Regions from separate parts of the Homo sapiens genome. Here region 1 is linked to region 2. Evidence: promoter capture Hi-C in 16 types of primary human blood cells and fetal thymus (Javierre and others, 2016). All regions are on one chromosome and are shown on one strand. The core of a region is centred on a gene start or on the middle of the fragment in contact, and the rest is flanking DNA. Distances in the headings are between cores, read along the strand shown. Region 1 has its middle 4.9 kb from the start of OR52A5. Region 2 holds the start of OR52E4 (olfactory receptor family 52 subfamily E member 4).

What was found. The method cuts DNA at HindIII sites, captures the fragments that hold promoters and counts their contacts. A CHiCAGO score of 5 or more calls a contact.
Region 1: a fragment that was not itself captured here is called in contact with the fragment with the promoter of OR52E4 in region 2 in 1 of 17 cell types (monocytes); the score reaches 5.4 in monocytes.

Annotation. Positions count from the first base shown.
Region 1 is chr11:5,141,183-5,145,316 of GRCh38, forward strand. No RefSeq gene overlaps it. Among named protein-coding and RNA genes, the nearest start is that of OR52A5, 4.9 kb to the left of the region's middle. The HindIII fragment of the contact is 3,076 bases long and covers 1-2,889 here.
Region 2 is chr11:5,878,638-5,882,942 of GRCh38, forward strand. It overlaps OR52E4 (olfactory receptor family 52 subfamily E member 4), which reads left to right and starts at 1,992. Exons shown (of 2, transcript NM_001005165.2): 1 at 1,992-2,077. It overlaps LOC112268071 (a long non-coding RNA gene), which reads right to left. Exons shown (of 3, transcript XR_002957231.2): 3 at 2,458-2,792. The HindIII fragment of the contact is 16,575 bases long and covers 1-4,305 here.

The DNA of each region.
Region 1 (4,134 bases), core at 102-2,601, 740 kb before region 2:
CAGAATACACAAATCCATAGGGACAGAAAGTAGATGAGTGATTACCAGAATCTGGAAGCAGGAAGAAATGGGGAGTGACTGCCAGTGGGTATGGAATTTCATTATTGGTGTGATTAAAATGTTCTGAGGCTGGGTGTGATGGCTCATGCCTGTAATCTCAATGCTTTGGGAGGCTGAGGTGGGCAGATAACCTGGGGTCATTAGTTCGAGAGCAGCCTAGCCAACATAGTGAAACCCTGTCTATACATAAAACAAACAAACAAAAATTGTAAAAATTAGTTGGGCATGGTGGCACATGCCTGTAGTCCCAGCTACTTGGGATGCCGAGGCAGGAAAATCACTTGAACCTGGAGGTTGCAGTGAGCCAAGATCATGCCACTGCACTCCAGCCTGGGTGACAGAGCGAGACTCCATCTCAATAAGGAAAAAAAAAAGTTCTGAAATTACAGGGTGGTAATAGTTGCATTATTTTCTGACTATACTAAATCCACTGACTTGTACACCTTTAGCAGGTTAATTATTTGGAATGTGAATTATATCACAATTAAAAATAATAATTGGCTTAGCATGGTATACACAGACTATACAAAAAAACCACTAGATATATGTTTTCAAACATTAGGATATGATAAATAAATATGGTGATGTAATTTGATAACCAAGAAGGAAGCATAGCTCAAATGTAAATGCAAAACCTTTATTCTGGGTAGAAAGGATATATGGAAATCTTTTGTACTTTCTACTCAGTTTTTCTGTAAACCTAAATTTTATCCAAAAACCAAAGTATATTAATGAAAAAACAATAAAATAATAGAAAAATCTTTTTTGTTGTTGGCAGAGTCTCACCCTGTTGTCCAGGCTGGAGTGCAATGGTGCAATCTCAGCTAACTGCAACCTCCACCTCCCAGGTTCAAACTATTCTCCTGCCTCAGCTCCCCTTATAACATGTATACAAAGATTCACATGTACCCATTATCACAAATTGTTCATATTTTGCCCCATTGTACTTTATCACTAGTTCAGTAGGTAGGCAAAAGGAGTATTTTTTTTTTCTGAATGGTTTACAAATAAATTGAAGACATGGTTACCCTTTATATCTAAATTTTAAAGTTTGTATTTCCTAAGGAAAAGACATTACATTGTATAACTATGGTATTATAACCAAGATGAGGACAGTTAGCATTGAAATAAAATTATAACCTAATATAAAGTCCATGTTTAAAGCTAGACAATAGTCTCAACAATGACATCTATAGCTATATTTTCTTTTTTCAGAATTCAATCCAGGAATACCTAGTGCAGTTAATTTTCGTGTCTCTTTAGACTTCTTGAATTTTCAAAACCTCCTCAGCTTTTCTTTCATATCTTGGATCTGTGAATAAACCCTGAATAACTACCACTCCAGTTTTGATACAAGCTAATTCCAAGGATCTAAAACTACTAAGGGATTTAGGAGTCTAGATTTACACTCCCTCCTAGAGTTAATCCACACTATCTACAATATCAGAAATCTCATCCCTTTATATCATCTTTAAAGTTACCATTTGATCTCTGCCTGAAACCTTCCCATGACAGAAAACTCTCTCCCTCTCTTTTTTGTTTTTTTTCTGAGATAGTGTGCCACATCGCAGGACAGCTTCCAGAGTCAACGAGGTCTTCTTTCTATAGAGCCCCAAACTGCCTCCCTCTTAATTTTTTTCTTTCGCTTTCTTGATAGTGGAATTTTTGAGGAACATCCATTTACTATTTAGAATTTCCATCATTTTAAGTTTCTTTGGTGTTTCCTCATGACTAGGATTCAGGCTATGCTGTTTTGCTTGTTTGTTTTTAATATCGCAGAATAATATAGCCTTTCTCTGTTCACCATATCATTAATCACATGATGCTGATATGTTCTAATATTAATGTGGTTAGTTTCAGTCACTTGGTTAATGGGATGTCACTCTGGATTCTTGGTAAGTTGCTATTTTTCTCTTTGTATTTCATAGAAATCTGTGAAAAAATATATTTATTGAGACGATTTAAATAGTCCACTCCTCTGAACACTTTCACTCATGAGTTTTTTTATTCTGTTTATGAATTTTTAAATCCATCATACCTTTCCTATTTATTTATTGGCATTACACTGTAAAGAAGAACATTCCCTTTTCCCAAATTTGTATTGCTTTACTTATGTTTGTATAGATTCACAGAATCTGATTTTATTCAATGGGCTATAATCCTTTGCCATAATTATTTATTTTGATGCTCAAAATTTTCTAAATTTTGCCATAAGGAGCTCCTTCCAACCAGATCTTGGGTCCTTTCCACATGTTCCAATCATGCTTTGAGTACTTCCTTACTTTCTATCTCTGCATCATCATTTCAAATTACTTTATGCTTTTTCAGCTCAAGCCACAGAAACAGATATTTTTCCGAAAAGCCCTGGTCTCTTTCTGTGAACAAAGTTATTAAGAAAATCAGTATCTTGAAACAAGGATTGTTTATTCATTGCCATTGTTTGTTCATTGCTTTTGGTTCCTATAAGTGAACAGAGGAAATACATGCACACACACACACACAATTATATAATTACATTTGCATATGTTTGTATCTCTCTTTATTAAAAACAATGAATCCATACTTGCAATTGCAATTGGAATCCAAACCTTCAAGATTCTTTCTAGTCTCAATACTTTACTTACAAGTAATTATTTTCTTCACAAGTATAAAAATTATCCTCCATTATCCTCAACAGTTTTTCTCATTTCTTCAAGCCTAGAATACCCAGTAAATAACTCCCATATGGCTAGCCAATATTACTATGAAAAGCAAATGTAATAGCTGTTTGGTGTTTGTTTATACTACTCTTTTGTTACTAAGAAAAGACAGTAAAATAAATTGATCTTAAGCTTATTTTTTGCAAATACGTTACTCATTATCCTATCAAGATATAAAATATTTCCTGCACTCCAGAAAGTTTTCCCAACATGACCATTCCTACTTTTTCAGGGGAAAGCATTGTTGTTTAAAAAAAAAAATTACTTTCAATTAATTTTACCTGTCCTAGTGAGAGGTGACAGCGTGCTGGCGGTCCTCACAGCCCTGGCTTGCTCTCGGCGCCTCCTCTGCCTGGGCTCCCACTTTGGCCCCACTTGAGGAGCCCTTCAGCCCGCCACTGCACTGTGGGAGCCCCTTTCTGGGCTGGCCAAGGCCGGAGCCAGCTCCCTCAGCTTACAGGGAGGTGTGGAGGGAGAGGCGTGGGCGGGAACCAGGGCTGCGCCCAGCGCTTGCTGACCAGCGCGAGTTCCGGGTGGGCGTGGGCTCGGCGGACCCCGCACTCGGAGCAGCCGGCCGGCCCCACCGGCCCTGGGCAGTGAGGGGCTTAGCACCTGGGCAGTGAGGGGCTTAGCACCTGGGCCAGCAGCTGCTGTGCTCAATTTCTCGCCGGGCCTTAGCTGCCTTCCCGCGGGGCAGGGCTCGGGACCTGCAGCCCGCCATGCCTGAGCCTCCCCCACCACCCCTTGGGCTCCTGTGCGGCCGGAGCCTCCCCGACGAGCGCCGCCCCCTGCTCCAGGGCGCCCAGTCCCATCGACCACCCAAGGGCTGAGGAGTGCGGGCGCAGGGCGTGGGACTGGCAGGCAGCTCCACCTGCAGCCCCGGTGTGGGATCCACTGGGTGAAGCCAGCTGGGCTCCTGAGTCTGGTGGGGACGTGGAGAACCTTTATGTCTAGCTCAGGGATTGTAAATACACCAATCGGCACTCTGTATCTAGCTCAAGATTTGTAAACACACCAATCAGCACCCTGTGTCTAGCTCAGGGTTTCTGAATGCAACAGTCCACACTCTGTATCTAGCTACTCTGGTAGGGACTTGGAGACCCTTTGTGTGGACACTCTGTATCTACCAAATCTGGTGGGGAGGTGGAGAACCTTTGTGTCTAGCTCAGGGATTGTAAATGCACCAATCAGCGCCCTGTCAAAACAGACCACTCGGTTCTACCAGTCAGCAGGAATGTGGGTGGGGCCAGATAAGCAAATAAAAGCAGGCTGCCCGAGCCAGCAGTGGCAAGCTCGTGGTAGCTTTGTTCTTTCTCTCTTTGCAATAAATCTTGCTCCTGCTCACTCTTTGGGTGCACACTGCCTTTATGAGCTG
Region 2 (4,305 bases), core at 742-3,241:
AGAGATGTAGATATCCAGATCCGAAAGCTCAAAATCCCCTATGTAAATTCAACTCAAGAAGGTCCTCCCCGAGGCATTATAATGTCAAACTGTCAAAAGTCCAAGACAAAAAGTCTCTAGGCCTTTAGGCTATTTGGCATGAGGAAACAGTGAAAATAGTGGGAAAATATATCCAATCCTTCAACACTTTTCAGAAGTAATGTCCTCAGGGAACAGCTGGGTTTCTGTTTCAAAAGGAAGAGAAACAGAACATCAGAAGTGGTTTAAGGCCAAAAATAATATCACTGCTCATAAAAAATTGATTCTAGAAGTCACAGTGAAATAGTCTTGGGAATAGGAGAGGGGTAGGTACAGTGACCAATTAGGAGATATATGATTATATGATATGACCCTAACAGAACTAGAATTTTTATGTTTTAAAAATAATGTAATTCAATGCCAGAACACCTCCTACAATCAAAGCACTATACTAAGTGAACTGAAGGATAAAGTTGACTTAAACATCACTCTAATATCAATCCATAAAATAATGGAAGACAGAAAACACAAAACCAACACAAAATAAAATTTGCCTGTTATAATAGTGGCACACACTGATGTGAAAATACAAAAGACACAAAGATTATATCAGATTGATTCATATGAAAGGTCATTAAGAAGTATAGGACAATTGAGAAAGTGCTGAAGCAAAGTAGAAATGAGATGAAGTTATTTCATATGGAGGACTTTTGATTATCAAAGACAAGATGTGTGTTCGGGAGTCATGTAGTATAATGAAAGTATAAAAAGTTGATTGGGTATTGAGTGAAGGACTTTGGCAACAATGGTGTTTGCCCCTTATTACATAAAGTCTACAGTATACAATGGAGAATGTAGGGGTCATGGGAAGGAATTTTAAGCAGAAATTGGATAGAGTCAGACTTGATTTGGGAAGATAAATGTGGATACAGTAAGGAAGATGGACACAATGAGGGAGAAACAGGAACCTCAGGAGTTACTTTCTCATTAATCAAAAGAGAAGTAATGAACACAAGAACGTGGCAGATCAAACCAGAATCTCTCTTGGACCACAGACGACATTGCTGTTTCTGTGCTAACAACTCAAAATAGTCTGAACTTAGGAGGCAAAAAATACCAACTAATTGTCTAATGTACTTATTTTTCCCTCAGTCTATTTCTAACTATAGTCAGGAAAACCAGGCTCTGCAGCATGTCCTGGTAGTACTATCGGGTCTACTATGTCATCATTCAGGAAGGGAGCCTCTCAGGAAACACTACCTCTGCTCTGGCTGGAAGGGACAATATAATATGTTTTATAAGGAAAACGTAGAATTTTCTTCACTTTCTGCCAAAAGAGCTGAAACACATGAAAGCCTCTCTTCAAAGACTATCTGTTCACCATTAGTTATAGACTGAGAAGGAGAATCTTGGTGGGTTGGAAGAAAGTTGCTGCTATTATCTGCAGGCATGCACACTGCCAATAAACAGAGTTGTACCACAGAGTCTAATTTGTCTATTTGAGATGTCTTCTCCTTCATCTTTTGAAGCCTCAATTGTAACAGCTGTGAAACTACATCAGGATTTACACAAACATATTAAAACAGAAAAGTTGCTGAGAACAGTTTCATGGTCACACTGTGAAGAGTTAATGGTCCAAAATCAATGCTTTCATGGCTCCTGAGGGAAGCGGAATTAACATCATTCCCCAAACAGATTCCTCTCTCTTCAGGATAGCTCCCTTCCCATCCTTTCATAACACATCTGCTCCCCTGAGCTAAGGAGTTATATCTAGCATGGTGTTTCTCTGCAGATGCAGTGAAGAGGAATAAAGACTTACTATGACTTAATGACCCTCGAGTCCATGTTTCTGCCCAGAGGATTCCGAAGACTAGGCTCGGGGATTCTGGGACATGCCTGGTCATAGGGATGCTCTCACTCACTATAAAGTTGCCTCCACTTTACCAAGCAGGCTTGTTGCTCAGAGGCTTCAAGGGGAACCTAATCACGGTCTTTAAGAACCTGGACTCATGCTCCAATTCTGCTCCAAGTGAGGGCTGGGAGAAGAAATATTACAGAGGTAAGAATGCTTGTGCAGGAGAAGTGAAAAGATACACAGGAGAGAAGAAGAGGGCAAATGAGGATAGAGAGGCCAGATTCTTCCACTTTTCTGAGGAATTATCCTAAGCACCATTGCACCATTTTCTTCACAGAGGAACACAACAGAGCACATGGGATTGGTGAGGGCAGTGGTGTACCAATTAGTAATGCACAGAATTTCTGTCTGTGTATCTCTCTCTCTCCCCCCTTTCTCTCTGCCCCTCTCTCTTACACACACATACACTCATACACACACATTCTCACAGAGTACACTGTTCACAGCCGAAACACCACAAATACAGTCATATAGTAGCATGGCCATACTTGTTGTCAATAAGACAAAAGGATGTTATTGCAGACTTCTTTTGTATGTGTTTATTTAAGGTGGTGGGTGGGTATCACATGTCAATATTCAAATACAATTACATAGGCATTAACATATTTGGTCTGTAAAGTTTTATTCTCTGTTTCCCTCATTGTCTGAGTGAATTTAATGTTGCCAGTTGTAACTTGGTTCCCTATATCCCTACTACTTTATGGAACCATCCCCAAGCCATTTTTATTGTAAGCACAATACCCCTGCTAGATCAGCCGGACTGAACCGCCAATGGCACAGTTATGGAAGAGCCTGAATGAAGGTATTTATCCACTTTATCCATTCATCAACTGCTTTGGTCTCACCAAGATTGGGAAAGCTGTAAGAATAAGAGGAGAAAATTGTTTCTTTTCTAAATGAGCAGTATTGGGTCATATTTGTATCCATAAAAATCTAGACATAAATATTAATGTCTGACTCTGTGCCATTTCTTCACTTTGGCCTCTTCTGAGCCATTCCTCCTTTATCTAATCTTAGGCCAAACTGTGACATAATTTGGACTTTTTACAATGAAATAACTTCTTTCTGCTAACAGGTGAATTATTTTAGCTATCTTGCATTTAAATAAACAAAATATTTGGGAGCATTAATAAAATAAGTAAGTATAATTTGTTGAGGATACACTATGCACTAGCACCTATACAAACATTGGTCTTATTTATCATTAAAATAAACCACATTAGTTATAATTTATCATCTCATTTTTACAGGAGAAAAAAAAACTGATCTATCTGGTTAAAGAATCTGTCCAAGGGTCTCAAGCAAGTAAATGGTTTAGCAGGTTTTCCAGCCATGTCTGAAAAGTTTTAAGGTCCACAGAAGACTTCTGTAATATTCTACTACAGTCAGCAAAAAAATAAAAATCCAACAAAGTAAAAAAAATCACAAGTTCAAAATGTGAACTTTGGTGAGCACAATAAGAGAAAAATTGCTAATTGTTATGAATTTGTCTTTTCAGATGGACTCCAGTAGGGATCTTTGTCAATGTGCATATCTAGAGAAGAACAAACTTAATAATTTGCCCTCAAAAAATGATCTTGAGGTTATTGGCCATACACTGTCTGCTACTGTGGCATATAGTTATAACAGAAAGAAGGCAAGAATTCAGGTAAAACTGTGAGAGGGTGGATGTGCTGGCAGCTTTGAATTTTACTGTCAGAGAAGCGTCCTCTTTGCCATCTCCCTGGGAATGTTTTTCTCAGCTGGCAAAGTATCATGTTGAGACACAGCCACCCTTAAGATTGGGCTGACTCTGGACTGTAAATCTCACAACACATCATCCTAGCTATTTCCTCAGACTCTCCCAGGTGAAATCACAAAAACCACTGCCCTCTGATTTTTCAGCCTGGCATCTTTTCCTCAATACTGGCAAACATTATGTTCTTTTTTCAATTTTCTCTCAGCTTCTCGGGGACCAAGAAATGCTCTTGTTCTTCTCATACAGAATGGGGAATTATTAACTCCTTTGCTTGTGTACTTCTGCTGTAAAATAGCTACCTGGCAAAGTTACAGGACAACTGATGTATGCAGCCACGTACATAATAAAACATGATTTCTCTCTCTACTCCTATCTCTCCAACCTTCTCCGTCTCTCTCTCTCTCTCTCTCTCTCACTCTCTGTCTCTGTCACACACACTCACACACAAACAAAAGCACACTTATTACAAACCCCAACTCTGATTCAATTAAATGCTGAACAACTGGGAACCAACATTCATGTGGCAGTTTTGAGAGTATTACAATGATTACCCCTGGTTCTCAACTCTTAGTTGCAGCTATTCTCTTTGTAGAAATAAGGCCAGTACATGCATAAATATTATACAATCCAGGTT